Linked DNA regions of Homo sapiens: regions 1, 2, 4 and 5 are each linked to region 3. The links are contacts of gene promoters, found by promoter capture Hi-C in blood cells and fetal thymus (Javierre and others, 2016). All regions are on one chromosome and are shown on one strand. Each heading gives the region's core, a stretch centred on a gene start or on the middle of the fragment in contact. The rest is flanking DNA. Distances are from core to core; before and after follow the strand shown.

The links. The method cuts DNA at HindIII sites, captures the fragments that hold promoters and counts their contacts. A CHiCAGO score of 5 or more calls a contact.
Region 1: a fragment that was not itself captured here is called in contact with the fragment with the promoter of TCF7L2 in region 3 in 2 of 17 cell types (endothelial precursors and M1 macrophages); the score reaches 6.0 in endothelial precursors.
Region 2: a contact is called between a fragment that was not itself captured here and the fragment with the promoter of TCF7L2 in region 3, in 2 of 17 cell types (M1 macrophages and M2 macrophages). The highest score is 5.7, in M1 macrophages.
Region 4: a fragment that was not itself captured here is called in contact with the fragment with the promoter of TCF7L2 in region 3 in 1 of 17 cell types (M2 macrophages); the score reaches 5.6 in M2 macrophages.
Region 5: a contact is called between a fragment that was not itself captured here and the fragment with the promoter of TCF7L2 in region 3, in 3 of 17 cell types (M2 macrophages, M1 macrophages and endothelial precursors). The highest score is 6.4, in M2 macrophages.

What each region holds. Positions count from the first base shown.
Region 1 is chr10:112,637,480-112,640,179 of GRCh38, reverse strand. All of the region lies in intron 5 of VTI1A (vesicle transport through interaction with t-SNAREs 1A), which reads right to left. It overlaps LOC124902503 (a long non-coding RNA gene), which reads right to left. Exons shown (of 2, transcript XR_007062292.1): 2 at 1-2,700. Among named protein-coding and RNA genes, the nearest start is that of MIR4295, 4.7 kb to the right of the region's middle. The HindIII fragment of the contact is 958 bases long and covers 961-1,918 here.
Region 2 is chr10:112,688,764-112,691,463 of GRCh38, reverse strand. The region is part of intron 7 of VTI1A (vesicle transport through interaction with t-SNAREs 1A); the gene reads right to left. Among named protein-coding and RNA genes, the nearest start is that of MIR4295, 56 kb to the right of the region's middle. The HindIII fragment of the contact is 8,382 bases long and covers 1-2,700 here.
Region 3 is chr10:112,948,828-112,951,527 of GRCh38, reverse strand. It overlaps TCF7L2 (transcription factor 7 like 2), which reads right to left and starts at 1,281. Exons shown (of 15, transcript NM_001367943.1): 1 at 583-1,281; 2 at 255-321; 3 at 1-45. The coding sequence starts at 771. LOC124902502 (a long non-coding RNA gene) reads left to right here. Exons shown (of 2, transcript XR_007062291.1): 2 at 521-899. The HindIII fragment of the contact is 8,187 bases long and covers 1-2,700 here.
Region 4 is chr10:113,232,709-113,235,408 of GRCh38, reverse strand. No RefSeq gene overlaps it. Among named protein-coding and RNA genes, the nearest start is that of SNORA87, 190 kb to the right of the region's middle. The HindIII fragment of the contact is 2,235 bases long and covers 216-2,450 here.
Region 5 is chr10:112,671,302-112,674,001 of GRCh38, reverse strand. All of the region lies in intron 7 of VTI1A (vesicle transport through interaction with t-SNAREs 1A), which reads right to left. Among named protein-coding and RNA genes, the nearest start is that of MIR4295, 38 kb to the right of the region's middle. The HindIII fragment of the contact is 2,345 bases long and covers 217-2,561 here.

The sequences.
Region 1 (2,700 bases), core at 190-2,689, 310 kb after region 3:
TAGATTTAAAATGCTGAATTTTTAAATGGGCATTTAAAAATAAAAATGATTTAAGAGATATTCTCATATTCCATGAACTTAAGTCTTTGGGTAAAGAAAAATAATTTCATATTTCTATTTTAACTCCAAATGGCCCTTGAATCATTACTCTTCAAAGTCCCCAACAGAAGGTGGAAGACATGATTATTCCTAATTTACTGGTGAAGAAAAGCTGCACAAAGGAGTTAAATTACTTTTCTACTGTCACAAGGGAGGCACAGAATCATGAAATCATATTTTGTCTTCTGGTCTATTTTTTAGTCTTCAAAGCAGAAAACTGGCATAAGCCATATTGGGAATATGTGTAGTTTCTGGAACCAGCAGCTGAGAGTCAATGAAGATTTCAAACAAACTTTTCTTTTAAAAGCAAAAACAAACTATTAGACTAAGCTGGCTTTTGTTTTTTATAAAAATTTCCATATTCTGTATATACCTTTTCAATGTAAGTTAGTTTCTTGTATTCCAATATCAATTCATAGGTAAACACTTGGATGTTAGTGTTTTCAGCCTGTTCTAGAGCTCTTAAATGTTAAAACATCTAGTCACCCCATGTCAGTTCTTAAATATTTCAATGAATTAGGTAGTTCTTTGCATATGTATGATTGCTGAATTTCATTAGTGAGTCAGTCATGAAGCTTCTAGGTCTGAGTATGCCAAAATGATGATGTTAACATGAGGAGAGAAATACAAACATGTTCAAAGAGCTACCTGTTTTGAAAATTCCAAAATGTCACTGTTATAGAATAACTATCCAATTAGTAATTGTCTATGTGATTCATCAAAAGAATAAGCATCAGAAAGTCAGTCTCCTATACGTCTAAAAGCTCAGTATTTAAATGATATTTTGCTTTTTATAATCATGTCGACTCTCATTATGCATTTTTAATTGTCAATGAAATTTAGTAATAAAAAGAGAAAGCTTTAATTGAAATGTTTGTAAAATCCTCTTACTTGGAGAGTTTGTGTGAGTTGATTAATTAAGAGACTTTCACAGTTTTCATATTGATTGCCTTTGTGTTTCTGAACTTTCTGTCTGTTGCTCATGAGCAGAGCAAAAGTAAGAAATCCTGGATGTAACAAGATGTAGGATTTCTTGATACAGGCTTCCACTTTGATAAATTGAGTGTTTTTCCCTCCCTTTTTGGAGTATTTCTCTGTTCTCCCATTTTGTAGAAAGAAACAGGCTTTTAAATGCTGATACTTTTGCTTCAATGTCATAATTCCACCAAATGCCTTTAGGAAATAAAATCTCCTATTTCTAGTACAGTTTTTATTTATTTTATTAAATTGTTTAAAAACAGAAATGAAAAAAAAAAAAAGCCCAACCTGTTTTGCTAGGACTAAGCCAGAAGGAAATGGTAATATCTGTATTCTAGATCTCTGTAGTTAAAAAAAAAAAAAAAAATTAAAGAAATAGGAATTTTCTGCTTACATTTGGGTGAAATACATTTGTGCTACATTTAAACTATGAGAGCTGAATCTATTTGACAATAAAGTTAAATATTTCCCAATATTATCACTAAAAAGTGTCTCATGGAATTTTATGTAATAGGTTACATTTCAAAATAAATAAAAATAAAATTGATCTTTGGTACTTTTAATTAATCTTTCCTCTTGCCACCAAATACTTAGGGTGTTGTTATAAGATAAATAAATATTTAGGGGATTGCTATAAGTTAAAATAAGTAAATGTTTAGGGTGTAATAAGATCAGCTTACAAATTTTCTAGCTTGTTTGTTTAGGAATTTCCCCTCTATACCAAGACAAGATACTTCTCTCTTCTTTTGAACATTTCAGCATATTTGTCCAGCATTATTTTTTCATTCTCTTTTATCCCTGGGGCTCTCAATGTTTAAATAACTCCCTCCCATGTAAAGCTTTGCACCGATATCGATCAGCCTAGGCTGGAAGTTACTATGAGGCATTTTCAATAATCAGCCCAGCTGTTCAGAGAGCTTCTTGAATAAAACCCTTAGGTAAACAGCATAATACACTGAGAACTCTCTGCCAACAACCAGCCCTGCTCAGAAATCTCAAGGATTGCTACGAATGCTTCACTGAACAAAGAACTTAATTCTGATTTTAACAATGAAGGCTATAGAGTAATTCAAACAAATCCCATCTTTCATTCACATATGTAGAGACTATAAGGGGTTTCCCCAACAAACAACATGCTTGCATATGTGATTAATTCCAAAGCATTGTGTGTCAAGTAAACAGTTTTTACACATCTAAAAAGCAACTGTATACAAGACAATTTTTTCGTACTACCATTTTACTCCCTAATCCACACATTCTGATTTAAGTTTATTTATTTAGAACTTTTAGGTCAATCATATTGTCTATCTTTATGGGATGTACAGTACAGAAATAAAGGTGCAATTACTTATTTACAATTTTACTTTACTTTTTAATTTCTTCTTTACTTAAGAGTTAAATGCTAAAGAAAAAGAGAGTCTTTTATACAGCTGTTTTTTTTTTGAGATGGGAGTCTCACCCTGTCACCCAGGCTACAGTGCAGTAGCGCGATCTCGGCACACTGCAACCTCCACCTCCTGGGTTCAAGTGACTCTCCTGCCTCAGCCTCCTAAGTAGCTGGGACTACAGGCATGTGCCACCACGCCCAGCTAAGTTTTTGTATGTTTAGTAGAGATGGGGTTT
Region 2 (2,700 bases), core at 102-2,601, 260 kb after region 3:
ACTAAACTAGCTCTCTCAGAGAGATTAAGTGATTTGTCCAAAGTCACATAGCTAGTTGGCAGTAGAACTGAGTTTAGAATGTAGGGTTCCTTGCTACATCTTCCCATCCAACAGTTGTAGGCCAAGGATGCTCATACCAATTATCTGTGGAACTTTCATTTATTTATTTATTTATTTATTTATTTATTTATTTATTTATTTTTGAGGCAGAGTCTCATTCTGTTGCCCAGGCTGGAGTGCAGTGGCATGGTCTTGGCTCACTGCAACCTACACCTCCTGTGTTCAAGAGACTCTCTCACCTCAGCCTCCCAAGCAGCTGGGAGCACAGGCACACACCACCATGCCTGGCTAATTTTTTTGTATTTTTAGTAGAGACGGGGTTTCGCCAGCCTGTTCTTGAATTCCTGGCCTCAAATGATCCGCCTGCCTTGGCCTCCCAAAATGCTGGAATTACAGGTGTGAACCACTTTGATCGAACTATGGGACTTTAAAACAATGCATATGCACAGGCCCAGCCTGGGAAGTTCTCATTCTGAAGGAGGGCTGGGGCAGGGGCACCTATGGCTAGGGCAGGACCTATGTTTTAAAAAGAATCTGTGCAGGTGACTCTGATGCACACACATATAATAGACAATCATGGGGCTATTGCATGGATACTAACAGGTACCATCTATTGTACATTTTCTACAGGCCCAGTCCTGTGATGGATGCTTCACATGCTCTATATTTTTCATTTTTACAACTAGCCAGCTAATAAATAAGGTGTTTTTAGCATTTTACCGATGAAGAAGCGAATTCAGAGAGAAGTCCAAAGTGACAGCTTATAAATGGCAAGATGGAGATTCCAACCGAGAATCTCCATAGACCCTGCTCTTAACTGTCACACCCTGCTATATGCTATGGAGCATAAAGTTGCTCAATGGCACAGGTCACAAACCTACAGGTTACAGGTGGGTAATGTAAATGAGGAAAATAGGTCAAATAGGAACTGGGGTGAGCTGGAGGCCATGTGGCCCTTTAATGGGTTCTGAGTGTTTGGATGCTTTAAGAGCAATGATGGAGAGCAACCGGAACTCTCATCCATGTTTATGGGACTGCAAAATGGTTCAGTGTCTTTGGGAACAATCGGATAGGTTCTTATAAAATTAAACATATACTTACCATATGACCCATCAATCCTACTCCTAAGTATTTACCAAGAGAAACGAAAACCTATGTCTGCAAAAAGATATATACACAAATATTCACAGCAGCGTTATTTAAAATAGCCCCAAACTGGAAGCAACTTACACATTCATCTACTGGTGAATAGATAAATTGTAGTATACCCCCACTCTGGAATATTACTCAGCAATTAAAAGGAATGAAATACTGACATATGCAACTACATGGATTAATTTCAAAAGCTCTATGCAAATGAAAGAAGTCATATACAAAAGATGACACACTGTATAATTCCATTTACATGAAATTTTAGAAAAGGCAAAACTCTAATGTCAGGAAGCAGATCAGTGGCTCTCTGTGGCAGGGTGGGGAAAGAGATTTGAATGCAAAGGGGTAGGAGGAAACTTCTGGAGTGAGGGAACTGTTCTATATCTTGATGTGTGGTGGTGGAGCAAGGCAACACAGCTGCATATGCATACCAACAAACATCCAACTCTACAGTTAAAATGGGTGAATTTTGTTGTATGTAAATAATAATTAAAAAAAAAACTGTGCAGAGCAAAAGTAAAAAAATCTGTAGGCCACTTGTGGCCCACAGACTTCCAGTTTTCAACCTCTGGTCTCAGTGGAGAGATTCTGCTTTAGCTGCCCCGAGGAAATACAAAAGATGACAAAAAGTCATCCATCATCCTCCCCAGGGCTGGGCTCAGGAAGAACGGTGACGTTTTCGTTTATCCCCCTCTTCCAATTCTCTGTCCTCCTTCATCACATACAAAATGCTCCCATGCTGCCCCCTGGCTGTCCAGCACCTCCTACCAGGGCACCCCACCCATGTCTCCTGGAGTCAGCTCCAAAACCACCCTTCCCTCAGGCCCTCCTCCTGACCTCCAGAATGCAGAGGCTGCCCCTCAGTGCTTTGTGCAAGGTGGAGACACATTACACTTGGTTAACACATGACCAGGTAGGTGCACATGACTGTTACTGATGACATTTCCAAGCACTGACATCTGATGAAGACAATGCATGGAGCCTTAACCCAAGTTCAGTATTACCTTCCAGTCAGGTAGGGAATACCTTGGGAAAAGTGGGGCTATTTCTGGAATTCACTGCACTTTTCCCTACCAGAGTGACTTGCCTGCTCTGCTTATACATACATTTTTGTCATCAATATTATCATCAAACACGTTAAAATTAATACATGCAAGTGGTTTGGATGGTCACTATAGAAAGGTACAAATAATTCTCAGTACCCAGTTGTCAAAACTGAGAGTGCTCTTAAATACCAGGCTGAGGAGCTCTAAGGACATGCTAGAGGCAGCCCTTTTATTTTCTGAAACCAAATTAATGTCAACCACACACTGCTGGGCTTTCCTGAGCCTCCATATATGTCATAATAACTTGATTTTTAAAAAACCCACTACTGACAATAACTATAATAACTATGAAAAATTGGCATTAGTAGGCCAGGCACAGTGGCTGATGCCTGTAATTCCTGCACTTTGGGAGGCTGAGGTGGGTGGATCACCTGAGCTCAGG
Region 3 (2,700 bases), core at 32-2,531:
GATACGGTGGCCCCTTAAAGAGCCCTCCATCTTGCCTCTTGGCCGCTAACATGGCGGGGCGGCGAGGGGACAGCGGCGGCCGCGCGGAGCGGGAGAGAGTGAGGAGAAACTTTTTAGAAAGTGCCCCGAGGGGCCGGGCGCCCCGACCGGGCCGGCGCAGGGCCAGGCCGAGCCGGGCGCGGGGCCGGGGCGCGCGGGGCGGCCGGCCCGGGGGGCGGCTCCGGGCGGCTGCGGGGCGCGCGGGGCGTACTCACCTTCTTCCAAACTTTCCCGGGATTTGTCTCGGAAACTTTCGGAGCGAGGCGGAGGCCGTCTTTCCGCCTTCCCAGAGGGGTGGAGGTGGGGAGGGCGAGGGGCAAACGCCACGCAGAAGGGGGAGAAGGGGGAGAAAAAGAATCGGCGAGGTCGAGGGGGGGGTAGAAAAAAACAGGGTTACAAGTTTTTGCAATGGTGGCACCGTACGCACACGCCGCCCGCCGGGCCCCGCCGCCGCCCCCAGCCCCGATTTCTCCCCTTTCAGCAACATTTGCCAAGCCCAGGAAACAGATAAAAAACCCCACCAGCCCGAGGGGCTTTTCCTACCTCGGAATCGGAGGAGCTGTTTTGATTCGTTTCTGATTCATTGACTAGAGACGATTTGACATCAGCTAAATCCCTCTCTGCCGAGGAGTTTTCGGAGCTCTTCTCCTCCTGTTCGCCCTCGTCTTTGAAGGAAATCAGTTCGTCGTTGGCGCCTAGGTCATCCCCTCCACCGCCGTTCAGCTGCGGCATTTTTTTTTCACCCACCAGCAGCAATTTTGGAAGAAAAATGAAGGAGGAAGAAAAGCCAAAAAAAATCACCCCCAAAAAGTTTTGCCCCCCCAAAAAATATTGCAAGAAAAAGACGAGTCCAAGGTGAACTTTTTTCTGCTTGGGGGTCTTTTTCTCCTGGGGAGGGGAAAAGAGGGAGGAGGGGAGGGGAAGGGGGGGGAGATCTTCTGCACGCGTGAGTTTGGGTTTCTTTTTTCTCTCGTTCCCAAGGATCCGATCAATGTGCAAAAAAATAATAAATAAAAAAGGGGGGTAAAAAAAAAAAAAACACCAACAACAACAAGAAGTCAGATATAAAGAGCAAAGGGGGGGGGAAGCCGAAGATACAGGAGGTGCTCGTGCCGCTCGGATTTGAGTGAGTTGAAGTTAGACTGAGAGCTTTTCAGTTCAAAGGCGGCGCTGATTGACAGATAGAAAAAGGGGGATCGAAATCCGGAGGAACGGAGTAGTCTGGGAGCGGAGATTATTGACAGGGCGAGAGGAACACACTGCCTTAATGAGATGCCGGAGGGCGGGGCCGGCCCAGTGACGTGTGCATAAATAAACAGCCGGGGTGGGCGGGGCGGGGGCGGCTAACAATGATCCTTTCGGGCGCCGGGAGAGGGAGGAGGGAAAGAAGGAGGAAGAGAGGGGCGGGGAAGCCGGGGGGAGACGGAGGGAGGAGTGTGCAGGGGGAGCGGCCTGCGCGGAGTGTGTGCGAGCCCGGGATTCTGGGCGAGGGTGCAGGGACTTGCTCCGGGAGGGGGCGGTTTCAGAAAGACAATGCGGGGTGGGAGAGGAGGAGAAGGGGGTGGCGACCAAGTCAGGAATCCGAGCCGAGGAAGGCGGAAGGAAAGCCCACTTGGGGGGCGGGGATGGGGAGAGGCCCAAAACAGTGCACTTTAGAAATATTAGAAATAAGTCTTAAGGGAGGGGGAAAAGGAAGGGTAGTATTTGAGAAAGTGGTGGCTGGGGGAGGGGGTGGGGGGGTGCTTGGTGGTTAATTCAGCAGTGAAATCAGCCACCCTTAGACGGGATGCGACAAAAGTGGTCAAAAGGAAAGATCAACCCTCCACTTTCAGAGAGCTTGGGGAAGTGAAGGGGCTGGTCAAAGTTCCTGGTCATCTACAATGAAAGAAACTATTAACCCATGAGGCCTCCCTCCTCCCTTTTTTGTTTATTAGTAGTGAATCATTTCATGAAATGTTAAGTCCCACTAGGATGGATATGCCAAAACGACTTTTTATGCAAAAAACAAATGCTAAATGTCAGAAACATTAAAAGTATCCTTAAGGAAAAATATATGATTCTTTTAAATGTAGAGTGGTGTTTTGCTTTTTTTTTTTTTTTTTTAACTGACGTTGGAGGTAGTAGGAAATGAGCTAGAGTCAAAGTCCTTTTTGACTTAGGAGGTGAAAAGTTTGGGCGTTAACACCGTCAGGGAAAATAAAACTGAAAGTTCACCAACCCCTGGGATCAGTTGGGCTACAGTGTTTCTCGAAGGGGGTCTGAAATGAAATCCCCGAAAGACTGACCAAAATAATCAAGATGTAGGTGGCTCTGGCAGGAAATTGCTAACCAAACCGATGCTAGAAGACCTTCGGGAGAAGATGGGAAACCTGGGGCTTGAGGCAGGTATTTGTTGACTTTTAGGTATTAGAGGAGGAGCAGACTGATTTGCTACAAAATGGGGAATGGAATTATGTTAAAGAGGAAAGACCCAGCTCCCAAAACACAATGTTCCTGGGTGATAGAGCAAGAAAATTCATTTTTGCAAATACCCAGTAAGAAGTAGACTGGACACTACAACATGAAAAAGAGAAAAAAGAAAAAAATAAATCAGTAGGATTTAGCAAATTGCCTCTTAGGAGTAGTATTAGTCTAGAGTCCAGGATGTACTGTTGTCCCACC
Region 4 (2,700 bases), core at 84-2,583, 280 kb before region 3:
GTTCAAGCCACACTGACCACCTGTCCAACCTTCAAATACAACATGTTCCCTTCCACCCCCAGACTTTTTCAAGATTGCTGTTCCCTCTCTGGAAAGTTCTCATCCTGCTGCTCACTCGATTCGCTTATAGATTTTGGTTTGTGTTCTTCAAGGAAGTCTTCTCTGGCCCCAGCACCGGGTGAAGCTCCTGTGCTTAATGCTTTCGGAGCAAAGCTTCTTTCCTGGAGAACTTTCATCTGGTGTAGAATCATATGCTTATTAGTGTGAAGGGGTGAACAGAGTCTGTTTCCCTAGGCAACAAGGATGAAATTGGCTTGGTTTCACGATTATTTCCCAGTGCCTAGCATAGTTCCAGGTACCAGGTATATTAGTCTGTTCTCTTGCTGCTAATAACACATACCTAAGACTGGGTAACTTATTTAAAAAAAAAAAAAAGAGACAAAGAGAGGAGTTAATTGACTCACAGTTCCACATGGCTGGGGAGGCCTCACAGTCATGGCAGAAGAGGCAAAAGGCACATCTTACATGGTGTAGGCAACAGAGAGCATGTAAAACCATCAGATCTTTATAAAACCATCAGATTTCCATGCCACTGCGCTCCAGCCTGGGCAAAAGAGCGATACTCCATCTCAAAAAAAAAAAAACCATCAGATCTCATGAGACTTATTCACTGTCACAAGAACAGCATGAGAAAGACCCACCCCCATGATTCAATTACCTTCTACCGGGTCACTCCCATGACACATGGGAATTGTGGGAGCTACAATTCAAGATGAAATTTTTGTGGGGACACAGCCAAACCATATTACCAGGTATGTTTTCAGTCATTACATGGCTGTATGACTGGGACAGTTGTTAAGATATTGAAATGTTTCTGTATCCATTGGCAATTAACCACTGCCCCAAACCTTCCCAGTGCTCCATGGTACCCCAGCTAACCCATACCCTCCTCTGGACCTTTTGGACTCCCCATAATCCAGTAATCAAAGAGTTAATGTGTGGCACAGTGCTCAGATAGTGACAGCTAAATGTTTTAAATATCACACCAGCCTGCATACAGCAGACACTTACTAATCATGGGTTGACTGAAAGAATCATGGTAGAGCTAGTGTTTCAGTCCAGATCGCTCAACTCCCTGTTAGTTATCTTTCTGCTTTGTCCTGCTGTTCCCCGCCCCAGCCCCCAGTTGACATAAAGGGCTTTCTTGGCAAGCTCCAGAAGGTGACATGGTCCTGTTCACTCATGGGTCCTTCTGAGCATCCCCACTCCCCACTCAAGCCTTCAAGAGCACTACAGCAGGTGCAGGCCTATACCTGCCTGCCTGGGCTGTGAAGTCCACGGCATATGGTTGGCACCAGGAGCAGAGGCAGCCAGGTACCCTTGCCTCACCCTCTGCTGAAATTCTCTAGGGAATCCCCACTTCAGCAGAAGTCATGTGACCTTGGGAACTCCATTCACCATTTCAAAAGTATATGACCACCTAAATACCAACTCTTCACACCAGGCAGTCTTCCCTCTGAAGGAGCAAGGTGAAAGAAGGAAAATTTTTCTTTCATTAAAGAAGATACTTGGCCTGGGTGCAGTGGCTCACACCTGTAATCCTAGCACTCTGGGGCCCAAGGTAGGAGGATCACTGGAGTCCAGGAGTTTGAGATCAGCCTGGGCAACATACAGAAACCCTGTCTTTACAAAAAAAAAAAAAAAAAAGTTTTAAAAATTAGCAGAGCATGGTGGTGTGTGTCTGTAGTTCCAGTTACTAGGGAGGTTGAGGCAGGGGAATCACTTGAGCCCGGGAGTTTGAGGCTGCAGTGAGCCATGACTGTGCCACTGCATTCCAGCCTGGGTGACAGAGCAAGACCCTGTATCAAAAAAGACAAAAACAGAAAAAGATACTCAATTGTAGCCATTTTTTATTCTTGGGCCACCCGCATCATGGCGGAGCTCCCTAAGTTCTGAGCATTGAGAAGAAGGCAGTACCTTTCTTAGTTTGAGTTTCCCCAAAAGCAGAACCTAGGTATAAGTTGTTTATTTGAGAGTTGAGCCAAGAAAGCACTAGAGGGAGAAAGAAAGTGAAACCATAAAGAGGGCGCTAATGGACTAATGATCAGGCTACATTTGCAGGCAGCTGGGCTCAGTCTCACAACAGACCTGAGAGACTGTGGAGGTCGCTTCTGAATTGTCTGTTAAAGGGACAAGGAAGCTGCAGTAGTTATCCACCAATTCCTATCCATCATTGATTGAGAGGGTCCTTCTGGGGCATTCATTCCCTGGCACTTTTGGCTTGCCCTGTGATCTGGCCAAGTACAGTCAGGAGCCATTGGAGTATCTGGGAGCTGTCTGCTGGAGACCTCACTCAGGGTCAAGGGGATATGTGTGGGGACTCCAACAGCACCAGCTAGAGAATTCAAATGCCTTAAAGCGGAAAACTCTTACAGGCCACCAAGGAAGCTTCCCACTGAGCAGTGTGGTGAAGTGGGAAGAGCTTGGTCTTTGAAATCCAAGCCTTGAGCTTGAATCTTGCTATATTTACTAGCTGGGCCACTGGGTGAGTTTAAACGATGTCTCTAAACATCGTTTTTTTCATCTGTAAAGATTATACTAAAGATTAAGTTAAATGCTATATATAAAGTGGTACTAAACTGGGCACATAGAAAGTATAGTTCTGGAACATTATCAATGATAATTGACATAACAATAATT
Region 5 (2,700 bases), core at 140-2,639, 280 kb after region 3:
TAGTAAGAACAATTAGAATATAACAGAATGTTTCCTGGGCAAAATGAAGGAGAAAAAAGAATGAGTTTTTAAAAAAAGCTTAAACATCTAGCCATGGCATATGTAAGAATAAACCTGTTTTTATTTTAAAAATTACATTTCTATAGCTTACAGATCTTGCATTGGCATTCCTGGTCTATTTACTCTTAGGAATCATTCTGACAGTGCATTTAAGCTTTCCAGATGTTTTACCTGTCATTCTACCAAAGACTACATTTAAAATGTAAAATATGATAGCAATGATAGGTGGCAATGATTCCCCAGGCTAACTCGAAAGTAACTCTAACAAAAATATGCATATCAGATAATATTGTGTGAATGGTCCTGGCTAGGTCAACTGCATTTAATACTGTCTGCTTTGTTTATACTACAGATTAGTTACAAAAGACCTCTTAGCAGCTCCACGCATAAGGAAGTTAACCATACTCATACTGGAAGGATAAACAAAATTCACTTTCTGAAGGAAACAATCTGAGTGCGTGTGTGTGTGTGTGCGCGCGCACGCGCGCATGTGTGTGAATGGGGGCAAATATAGGTAGTGTCGGGGAGAGAGGAAATTATTTGATTTGAGATTGTCAAACAGAATGGGTGTTAATCATCTATGCCATTCCTTCTTTTCTTTTCCTTTTTCTTTTTTTTTTTTTTTTGAGATGGAGTCTCACTCTGTCACCCAGGCTGGAGTGCAGTGATGTGACCTCGGCTCGCTGCAACCTTTCGCCTCCCAGGCTGAAGTGATTTTCATGCCTCAGCTTCCCAAGTAGCTGGGATTATTAGCTACTGCACCTGGCGAATTTTTTTTGTATTTTTTAGTAGAGGTGAGGTTTCACCATGTTGGCCAGGCTGGTTTCGAACTCCTGGCATCAAGTGATCTGCCTGCCTCGGTCTCCCAAAGTGTTGGGATTACGGGTGTGAGCCACCACACCTGGCTTATGCCATTTTTTTTATAAGCACTTTGCCAGCATATACAATGCAGCGGAGGAGCCAAGGTAAAGTAGTAACATATCCTGTAAATTTTTGTCAGTGGAGCTCTTAAGCTATAACTTTGTTACATTCCTGAGGCATTGTTCATATACTTTTAGAAACAAATGTACAATTAGTGATCAATCATTAACTCTTCAGAGGTAAAAGGAAATAGAATCATGATTTCTTTTTATTCTGACTGAATTTTGAAAATCTTAATTTTCATTTTTACAGATTGCCGACAGTTTGAACGAATAAGACTTTCTGCTCAAAGGTATAGAAAAAATACACACACAGACACACACATAAATACACACATATGAAGAGAGACATTTAAGTCTCCTAGTGATACTGTGACACTTTAAGACAGCCAATTATAATAATCAAATTTTGTGAAAGTCAATGAAAAGACCCATTTATTGGACCCAGTTACAACATAAATGGTCACTTGTTTCATGACCATTTTCATTATTATCTGAATTCCACTGTATTTAAACTCTGTCTACAGAGTTAGGAAATGAACAGTTTGTCCCTGGATGGCTCTCCATCACATGTCAGGATCGAAGAAAAATTACTTTCCAGGAAATCAGCCAGAGCTGTGTTCTGATGTCGAGTTTTACTATTATAATTTTGAATGAACCAATTTTCTCCTTTGTTTTCTTTCTTTTGGTAACATGGCATGCTTACATGAAGAGCAATTTCTTTTCGGTTGAAGCAGTTGCTGTCTCACTAAATTACATATTATATGTCAATGTTTTTGCACACCTTAGTTCTTTTCAAAATTTGTTTGTAATGATTCCATATACCATTTTCTATTTCCCTATTTTTTTTTCCAAACAGGTGGGCATTATAGCCATTTAACTCGTATTTTTTATTAGTTATTTGTTTTTCTGGTGTCCCTTTTAATGACCAGCAAGGACTAACTGGAGTTGTGGAATCTTCAATAGCTGCTTTGAGAATCCGTTAATTTTGTGAATTTCCATAGTACATTTTTATGCATACGTCCTCTACTACACTAAAGTACTCTGAAAGTGAGGATAAAATTGGTTTCATTTCAGGATCCCCGGCCCTGGCATACAGACATTAAATATTTACTAAGGAAATGAATAAGCAGAAGAAAGAAGAGAAGAAAGGAAAGAAGGAAGGAAATAGATGTTTATCTTATTTGAAGTTAATAAAATATTAAAAAGCATGAGTGGTAGATGATTATTTAGTGGCTGCTGGATTTTATAAACTTAATTTTTGTTGCTTACTTATTTTGATTTCTCCAATTCCTTTTGGTCAGTTTTACAGATAATCAAGTGGCCATACGCACAGATCTTGGTATCAATGGAACACTGGTTTCACCTGTCTTCACAACAGACCATACGTAAAATGGCTCAAATGATGAGCCGTGCCAAGCCATTTCTGTTCACTTTACAAATTTAAGAACAATCAAGGTTTAAAAAATTTTAAAAATAACCTGCAATCTTTCTTTTAAATAAAGCAACTCCTTGGTTTGGTATACTACAGAATATTTAACTATTTTCAGTCACACAGAATTTATCATATGAAAATAAGCTTATGTTATATGCAGGTAAATGCTCACACTTCACAAAGAGGACATTCATTTCTTTTATAGATTTGTGAAGGTGACAGATGAGTACAAGATTCAATAACATAACATTTCCTAAATCAGAAACGCTTGTTGACACACGATAT